3 separate regions of the Homo sapiens genome follow, and all the other regions are linked to region 1. The links are contacts of gene promoters, found by promoter capture Hi-C in human tissues and cell types (Jung and others, 2019). All regions are on one chromosome and are shown on one strand. Each heading gives the region's core, a stretch centred on a gene start or on the middle of the fragment in contact. The rest is flanking DNA. Distances are from core to core; before and after follow the strand shown. Region 1 holds the start of YIF1A (Yip1 interacting factor homolog A, membrane trafficking protein). Region 2 overlaps RBM14-RBM4 (RBM14-RBM4 readthrough). Region 3 holds the start of EFEMP2 (EGF containing fibulin extracellular matrix protein 2).

Region 1 (2,827 bases), core at 5-2,504:
GTTTGCTCACAGACACAAAACGGTGCAGCTGGGAGGGGAGAGAGGAAGCTGTGGGCAAGCCGCACCCCAGGCCTCAGGGTGCCCCTCTGTGTGCTCCATCCCTGAGGGCACTGTGAGGAATCGGGTGGAATCCCATGATGCCCCAGCCCTAGCCAAAAATTCTGCCACCCGTGCCCCGGGGGCAGGCCACACCTCCTTGTGCACCATGTCCTTCCCATGGGATGCGATGGAGCTGCCATAGGCCATAGCCACATTGGCCATTGGGTCCCCAAGCAAGTGGTTGACACTGAAGGCCACGTCTGCTCCTGTGGCTGGGTATCCCCCGGGCTGGCTGGAATAACCACCGCTTGTGTCATCGAAGAGGGGAGGGGGATCCGGGGCTGCCCGGGCCCTGTGCTTGGAGCCTGTGGGTTTGGAGGTATCAGAGTAGATGACAGAAATACCAAGCATGAGCCCAAACCACCGCCCCTTCCCTGGCTGGACAGCCCTGCACGGGTCCTGGAGGCACCGATCAGTGAGGGGACCCCAAGCTGGGTGAGGGGGAGCTAACTGAGAAAAAACTGTGATGAGGGATCCTTTGCGAGAAATCCGTTGCTAAATGTAGGCAAAGAAAGAGCTGAGGCAGCGCCTAGAACTGGTTGCCCACTTGGGGTTTCTGAAGGCCTCTCACTGGAAGTGACCTCTGAACTGAGCCACAGTGAGTAGAAGTGTGCTAGGTGAAAATAACTGGGAGGGCATCCTTCCGTGAACAAAGCTGGGAGAGGCGACAGCTGGCTACCTGGAGGCCCTGGACAGTGATCAGGGACCTCATCAGGTTCACAACAGTCAAAGGAGTTTCTGGAGGAGGAGGCGGACCCCGTTTTTGCCCGACTCCGGCATGGGATTCCCAGGACTGGGCCGAGAGGGCGAAGTCCGGGACGTGTTGGAGTGTTACGAGGGGCAGGAACCCGAGTGACACCCCCGCCCTGGGCGGCGGTCCCAGTCGCTATCTCCCTCGGGGTGAGCGGGCCACGCCGCCGACTCTCCCCCCGCCGGCCGCGCCGCGCCCCGCCCGCGCCCCACGCACCGTGGGCTCCGTAGCCCGAGTGATAAGCCATGGCCGCGACGCTCGCTGTCCCCGAGGGCCCGCTGCGCCGCCTCGTGGGTACGAATACTAATGAGGCAGCTGCTCCGCGCCCAGGGTACCGACCGAGGCCACCCGGCCGCGCGACACGTCCCCCACCCCGCCGGTCTCGGCCACCATGTCCGTGGCGTCATCCCCCGCGCCTGCCATTGGCTCTTCGGCGGCGCCGGCTCGCCCCTCCCCTCTCCCAATTGGCCACTGACGAGCTCTGGCCTGAGCGGATTCGGCAGAAGGCAACATCCGGGTGAGGGACAGGCGGAGCGACTTGCGGTGCCTGGGATTGGATCACGGGCTTGCCAGTTCACGGTGGGAACAGCCAATAGAAGAGTTAAGAAAGAAGGTGGGCGAGAATTATTTGCGCGCCTGCGCGGTGAGGCACTTGACGCACCCTGCCACGACTACACCAGGGAGTCGAGAGGTAACCTGCAGCCGGAGTCAGGAGCAAAGCTTCCTTGGTGGGACGTACTCCAGGAGGGAACGGGGCGGTCGAGTTCCAACCAAGCCCTGCCCTTCGGGGCGCCTGTTTCTCCCTCTCTGGGCTTGTTTTCCTCCCCCGTCACCTACACTTCACCCAATCTTGGAACGGAGCCCCGGCAGACCCGGAGGTGGTGGTGGGAGGCCGGACCTATCAGTGACAGAGCTGCCAAGCAAGCCCCAGGATGCTGACTCCACCCGCCTCCCACTCCTCTTCTCCGCGCGGGTGCTGTCCGTCGTCCGGTGCTGAAAATGTCCTCCCGCCTCAGCCGCCATCCTGTAGACTCCCGGGGGCCTGCGTATGGGAAGATTTGGGGTCTCGAACCACACGCTCCTAGCGAGCGCGTGGCCGCACGCACACATACACGCATACTGCAAAACTGGGGCCCAGAGGATCCGAAGTCTGAGAGATTGGGTGGTATAGGTGGGGCAGGATCCTGCCCCGGGCCTGTCCCATAGACTCTCCCGTAGTCCAGCAGATTTGGGGGCAGAGGTGTGCTGATTTGCGTCCTGAAGCTGCAGCCTAAACTCCTGAGTCATCGCCGGGCCTGTGGTCTTCTTGAAGTGAGGCCCCTAAGCCTCACTTGTAGTCCCGGGGGTTCCTTTCTCTCCACCCAGGTTCTGATCACTCCCAACCCCGCGGAGACAGTCTTCAGGGGCCTCCCTCTCACAGACCTTCAGCCACCGCTTTCTAGAGAGCATGAGCAGGTTCTCTGCGACCTCTCTAATTAGCTACCAGGTATCCAGTTACACCAGATGACCTTCCTGCTCCCCAAACTCAGCCCACGTGGTCTGATTGCAGTGCCATTGCCCAGAGGTCCCCTCCACCTGGGATGCCCTTCCCCCTCATATCCACTTGTCCATAAGCCTAGTTATCTTTAAGAGTTAGTTCATCTCGTGCCTCTCAGAGGGACAAAGGGGACAGAGACCTGACCCGGTCAGGGGTGGAGGTCATAGGTTGGGTTCTAGGCCCCCTCTGGGTGCACCCAATTTGCCCTGCATGTAAGTTCCATGAGGACAGGCCCTGTTGTCATTCTCCACTTCCACCCTTGTCTTCCCAGTGCCAAGCACAATACTTGCATATGGAAGACACCCAATAAACATCTGTGTCCAAGAAATTCATAATAAATAGATAAAACCCTGGACCAGTCCTTTCCTGTGTCCACATCTCAATTACCTAATCTTTAAGTGGGTAAGGATGTTTAATTGAATGGTCTTTGAGTTGCTCTT
Region 2 (3,125 bases), core at 156-2,655, 340 kb after region 1:
ATGGAGAAGGAAGCAGATGCCAAAGCCGCAATCGCGCAGCTCAACGGCAAAGAAGTGAAGGGCAAGCGCATCAACGTGGAACTCTCCACCAAGGGTCAGAAGAAGGGGCCTGGCCTGGCTGTCCAGTCTGGGGACAAGACCAAGAAACCAGGGGCTGGGGATACGGCCTTCCCTGGAACTGGTGGCTTCTCTGCCACCTTCGACTACCAGCAGGCTTTTGGCAACAGCACTGGTGGCTTTGATGGGCAAGCCCGTCAGCCCACACCACCCTTCTTTGGTCGCGACCGCAGCCCTCTGCGCCGTTCACCTCCCCGAGCCTCTTATGTGGCTCCTCTGACGGCCCAGCCAGCTACCTACCGGGCCCAGCCGTCCGTGTCACTGGGAGCTGCCTACAGGGCCCAGCCTTCTGCCTCTTTGGGTGTTGGCTATCGGACTCAGCCCATGACAGCCCAGGCAGCCTCTTACCGCGCTCAGCCCTCTGTCTCCCTTGGGGCACCATACAGGGGCCAGCTGGCTAGTCCTAGCTCCCAGTCTGCTGCAGCTTCTTCACTCGGCCCATATGGTGGAGCCCAGCCCTCAGCCTCGGCCCTTTCCTCCTATGGGGGTCAGGCAGCTGCAGCTTCTTCGCTCAACTCCTATGGGGCTCAGGGTTCCTCCCTTGCCTCCTATGGTAACCAGCCATCCTCTTACGGCGCCCAGGCTGCCTCTTCCTATGGGGTTCGTGCAGCTGCTTCTTCCTACAACACCCAGGGAGCAGCTTCCTCCTTAGGCTCCTACGGGGCTCAGGCAGCCTCCTATGGGGCCCAGTCTGCAGCCTCCTCACTAGCTTATGGAGCCCAGGCAGCTTCATATAATGCCCAGCCCTCGGCCTCTTACAATGCCCAGTCTGCCCCATATGCTGCACAGCAGGCTGCTTCCTACTCTTCCCAACCTGCTGCCTATGTGGCACAGCCAGCCACAGCTGCTGCCTATGCCAGCCAGCCAGCAGCCTACGCCGCACAAGCCACTACCCCAATGGCTGGCTCCTATGGGGCCCAGCCGGTTGTGCAGACCCAGCTGAATAGTTACGGGGCCCAAGCATCAATGGGCCTTTCAGGCTCCTATGGGGCTCAGTCGGCTGCTGCGGCCACTGGCTCCTATGGTGCCGCAGCAGCCTACGGGGCCCAACCTTCTGCCACCCTGGCAGCTCCTTACCGCACTCAGTCATCAGCCTCATTGGCTGCTTCCTATGCTGCCCAGCAGCATCCCCAGGCTGCTGCCTCCTACCGCGGCCAGCCAGGCAATGCCTACGATGGGGCAGGTCAGCCGTCTGCAGCCTACCTGTCCATGTCCCAGGGGGCCGTTGCCAACGCCAACAGCACCCCGCCGCCCTATGAGCGTACCCGCCTCTCCCCACCCCGGGCCAGCTACGACGATCCCTACAAAAAGGCTGTCGCCATGTCGAAAAGGTACTGTATGCCCCCCCGCCTCTGCCCCCAGCTGGGGCTTAGGGCAAGGGGCTGAGGTTGGCATGGGAGGGAAACTGGAGGCATCGGCCCCTCCCTCGGTCTTCTCTTCTCTATTTTTGTGGGATGTCCAGAGGCCGAGGGGAGCAGTGTCTATGAACTTTCCTGGTCACCAGGGTTCAGGTGGAGCATAGTGCTCAGCCTGGGGTGGTACCTGCTAGTCAGGCCAGGCACAGTGTCACCTGTCTAGGCTAGCCCAAGTGTCATTGGAGCTACTGCCTGCAGGACTGTGGCCCATATCCTTTCCCACTGTCTCAAGGATCCTTAAGCCTATTACGTGGTTGTCCTGGCTTTGGCAGGGATGTGGGTTAAAGAGTAGTCCCTTTGGCATTCACTGGCTAAAGGCAAGTTTACGAGGTGCGTCCACTCTGGGAAGTTGGGGACCTCGCTTTCATCCGCCGTTCTGTTGATAAACAACCAAGGTCTTTCTCTGCAGGGCCCAGGGGCGGAGATAGTTTGCTGTGGTGTGGGAATGTAGACCAAAATCCACCTTGGCTAGTTCAGAGGGGAGGACTTCAGTGGAGGGTTTGATTTCCCACTGAGTTGAAGCCAGGCTTGATTTTTTTGGCCTGGATAGGGTGATGAGCCTTCTGACAAAAGGAGACCAATCTCTTGGAGACCACTGTGATCACACCCTCCCTGTCCCCATTGGCATCTCCCCAATGCCCACCTGGAGTCCTCCCCTCAATTGTCTCATTCACCAACTGTCTTCTTCTCTCGACTAGGTATGGTTCCGACCGGCGTTTAGCCGAGCTCTCTGATTACCGCCGTTTATCAGAGTCGCAGCTTTCGTTCCGCCGCTCGCCGACAAAGTCCTCGCTGGATTACCGTCGCCTGCCCGATGCCCATTCCGATTACGCACGCTATTCGGGCTCCTATAATGATTACCTGCGGGCGGCTCAGATGCACTCTGGCTACCAGCGCCGCATGTAGGGCCATCCTGGGATGGGGCACCACAGGGAGGGAGGGAGAAAAGAGGTGGGTAGGGTTACAGATCCAGGTTATAACTACTCTGGCCCATACCTTTCCTGGTTGTGGTTTTTCATGCCCTCTACCATGTGGGCCTTCCCCAGGAGATGATCCTGTTAAGTGTTCGGCAGTAACCTACTTTGTTCCTTCGCCTCAGCAGCAAATCTTGCTACTGGCTCTAGATCTGCGGTTTCCCCTCTACCCTGCCTCCCGTCTCCCCAGAATGGGAATTTCTTTTATGTTTTTATTTTTTTCCTGGCTCCCTTTTATTTTTGTGCGCGATATTTAAGGTCGTCTGGATGGGGAAGCAACCTGCAGCTGAGGTCGCCGGCGCCTTTTTCTTTTTAGATGGGAAGGAGGCCAGGAAAGGGTCAGCTTAACCATTTCCTATGTGCCAAGCTGTGCCAGCAGTCCAGGGTACCCTGACTGTCCCTCTGTAGACTGTTGAGACTGAGTTCCTGTTGGGACAGTCAGTTGGTATGTATCCAAGTCCCTGCTGACCACTAATGTTCTAGCTGATGGTGAGCGGCACAGTCCCACTTCCCCATCTCCCCAAGTAGGTGGTGTTAGAAAACCTTAATTTTTTTTCCCTTTTGTATGGACTACAAATAAAACTTGGGGCAATTTGCAGTTTGGAAACCTGGTTGTCAT
Region 3 (2,746 bases), core at 97-2,596, 420 kb before region 1:
TGTGTGGCCCCAGCAAAGCCTTCCCACTCTGCTCAACAAGCTAAGTCTGCCTGCTCAGGACCCCTCCCCAGGGTTGGCCAAGGCTGGAGATGGGGCAGCTGTTCCCACTGTTGCCCTCATTCTCGGCCTGCAAGTGGGTCTCTATCCCTCCCCACGGCCCTAGCCCTAGCTCAGCCCAAGATGGGGGGCCTCCTTACCCACCCCTGGGGACGCTACCCTCCCAGGTTGTGATGAGACAAAGAGCTGGGACAGGAGAGTGGTTCAGAGAAGGCGTACAGGATCCAGCTCCTCTGAGGGGTAGGGACAAGGTTTCCTGGGTTTCTGGGAGAGGATGAGGCCACCCCTAGCTCAACTGGCCTCCAGAGAGCCAGAGCTGGCCTCTGTGTAGCAGAGCTGGGCATAGAACGGGCTGCTGGGCTCCCACGGCAGTTCTTGGAGGTGGGGCTGTCCCTTGGAAAGCAGCTATCAATCCCTTTCCGGGTTCCTGGGGGTGTTTGGTCCCCCAGGCACACACACCCCGGCAGTGCTGGCTGTCTGGGTCCCACTCATAGCCATCTGTGCATTCCTGGAAGGGAACCAGAAGTGGCCAGTGGTCACCCTAAGATCTCCTCCAACTGGCCAGGCCAAGACTAGGGCCTGAGCCTGGCCACCCTCCGGCCTGCTCCAAACAATGGCCCCCAGCTCTCCACCAGCCAGGGGAGGAAGACTTCCCCGGCAGCAGTCACCCTGGGTCCCGGTCTCTTCCTCCCTACCCTTCCTGTCCCAGGCCAGCGGCCCTCACTGTCCCCACCGTGTAGCTGTCGGGCTCTTCAGAATCCTGAGGAGAAGCTGATCCCAAGAGCAACAGTAGCAGCGCCCAGAGCAGTAGAGACCCGGGTAGGCAGGAGGCGCAGGGGAGCATCCTGGGGCTGCGAGATGGTGGACACGGGTCAGGGGCCTCTGCCCGCGGCACCTCAACTCCCTGTACCGGGAGCCCGAGCCCAGCCCCCGCCACTGCCCGCTCAGGACCGTGCTTGGGCCTCGGGGCCTCCCAGGGCTGGGGGCCGACTCCTCACAGGCCCAGGTCCCAGGCCCGGGTCCCAGGCCCACCCGCCCCGGCCACCCCGCCCCCGCCCCGCGCCCCTGCGGCGAAGGCCGAGGAGCGCGGGCCTCTGTGGGCGCTACGCTGCCGCGGACTCGGCCGAGACTCCGGCCCACGCCCTCCCCCACGGACGGTCACAGCCACTCACTTGGGCCCGCGACACCCCCGCGGCCCGCGGCTCTGGCGGCTCGGCTGGCTCGGGCAATGCCTGCGGGCAGACGGACGGGCGGACGGCACAGCTCCCTGGACGCGCGGCCCCAGGAAGCGCCCCCCGCCCGCCCGCCTGCCGCGGCGCGGCCCACCCCGGCGCCTCCGCCCGCCCTTCGGCGGATTCCTGAGCCAGCGCCAGGGGGAGGGACCCCGACCCCCCGCTTCTCCGCCCCCGGCCAGCCACAGGCCCCTACCCGGTCCCCCGCGGCGCCGCCAGGAGCCGCCTCCCGGCGCCGGACCAGGGTCCCCCAGTGCTCGATCCTGGGGCCCCGACCTTGATGCCAGGCCCCCAGACTCACCCGGGGGCCCCCAGACGCTCACCAAAAATGTCATCCTGCTCACCTAGGTCCTACCTAATCTGCGCCCCCAGAATTTCATCCTGTGCACCCACACCGTAATCCTGGAGCCCCCAGATTCTCATTGTGCGCCTCCCGAGATCGTCCTGGGTACCTAGAGCCCACCTAACCCAGTCCTCCAGACCCTCAATCTGCTCCCTGCAAAATTTTATTCTCTGCCCCAGACCGTCATTGTAAAAGATCCTAAAACTTCATCCAGGGTCCCCAGACCCTCGCCCAGGAACGAGAGGCTCCCAGGAGCAGAACTGTCCTTCTCGCTCCCTCCTGCCCTCCACCCCCAGGACCGTCTTCAGCCGGGTGGTCCTTTCACTACACACGGCCTCCCCCACACCCTCCATCCACAAAGCTACAAGTTTGGGGGCGAGGGCGGCAGTTCCCTTTTGGCACAAAATGAATGGAAGCCCCTGAGAAGGAGGGCAGGGCTGATGTCGGACGTGCGGGATGCCAGAGTCGGGTGCCAAGGCGCCTCCTCGACCTCCTCGCACCAGCGTCCCCCGCCCGGTTTCCGCCTCCGCCCGAAGTGGGGGCGTGTCCTTGGGGCGGAGTATGGGCGGGGCTGGCTCCCAGGAAGGGCGTGGCCTCTGTTTGCCCACGTCTTTGGGCGGGGCCAGGCGGGAAAGCACTGCGTGTCCGGGGATCCCCCGCCTGGGGCCCGCCCTTCCTTTCCCCTTGCCATCCCTGCTTATCCCCGCAGTCGCCCTCCACGTGACCCCGGGGAGGGAGTCTGCCGAGGAGGGGACGTGCTGGTGGGTCCCGCGGCGAGCGCCTGGGGCTCAGGTGAACTGCGCAGTGCCCGCTCCTCGCCACTCTGCCACCACCATCCCTCCCAGCTGCTGGGGCAGAAGGTTAAATAATAGCTCTTTAGGGGCCGGACGCGGTGGCTCAAGCCTGTAATCCCAGCACTTTGAGAGGCCGAGGCAGGTGGATCACCTGAGGTCAGGAGTTCGAGACCAGTCTGGACAACATGGTGAAACCCCGTCTCTACTAAAAATATAAAAATTAGCCAGGCGTGGTGGCGCGTGCCTGTAGTCGCAGCTACTCAGGAGCCTGAGGCAGGAGAATCACCTGAACTCGGGAGGTGGAGGTTGCAGAGAGCCCA

The links. Contacts are between HindIII fragments. The study calls those that stand out against the background at their distance.
Region 2: a fragment that was not itself captured here is called in contact with the fragment with the promoter of YIF1A in region 1 in 1 of the 25 tissues and cell types used here (hippocampus).
Region 3: the fragment with the promoter of EFEMP2 here is called in contact with the fragment with the promoter of YIF1A in region 1 in 1 of the 25 tissues and cell types used here (spleen).

The regions. Positions count from the first base shown.
Region 1 is chr11:66,287,889-66,290,715 of GRCh38, forward strand. YIF1A (Yip1 interacting factor homolog A, membrane trafficking protein) reads right to left here and starts at 1,255. Exons shown (of 8, transcript NM_020470.3): 1 at 1,067-1,255; 2 at 193-404; 3 at 1-28. The coding sequence starts at 1,097. RefSeq lists a silencer at 872-1,331 and enhancers at 1,270-1,564, 1,432-1,571. The HindIII fragment of the contact is 5,849 bases long and covers 1-2,827 here.
Region 2 is chr11:66,624,231-66,627,355 of GRCh38, forward strand. The region is part of intron 1 of RBM14-RBM4 (RBM14-RBM4 readthrough); the gene reads left to right. RBM14 (RNA binding motif protein 14) reads left to right here. Exons shown (of 3, transcript NM_006328.4): 2 at 1-1,448; 3 at 2,231-3,125. The coding sequence ends at 2,438. Among named protein-coding and RNA genes, the nearest start is that of RBM14-RBM4, 9.2 kb to the left of the region's middle. The HindIII fragment of the contact is 7,128 bases long and covers 1-3,125 here.
Region 3 is chr11:65,871,454-65,874,199 of GRCh38, forward strand. EFEMP2 (EGF containing fibulin extracellular matrix protein 2) reads right to left here and starts at 1,347. Exons shown (of 11, transcript NM_016938.5): 1 at 1,230-1,347; 2 at 791-908; 3 at 517-565. The coding sequence starts at 901. RefSeq lists a silencer at 2,350-2,409. The HindIII fragment of the contact is 15,058 bases long and covers 1-2,746 here.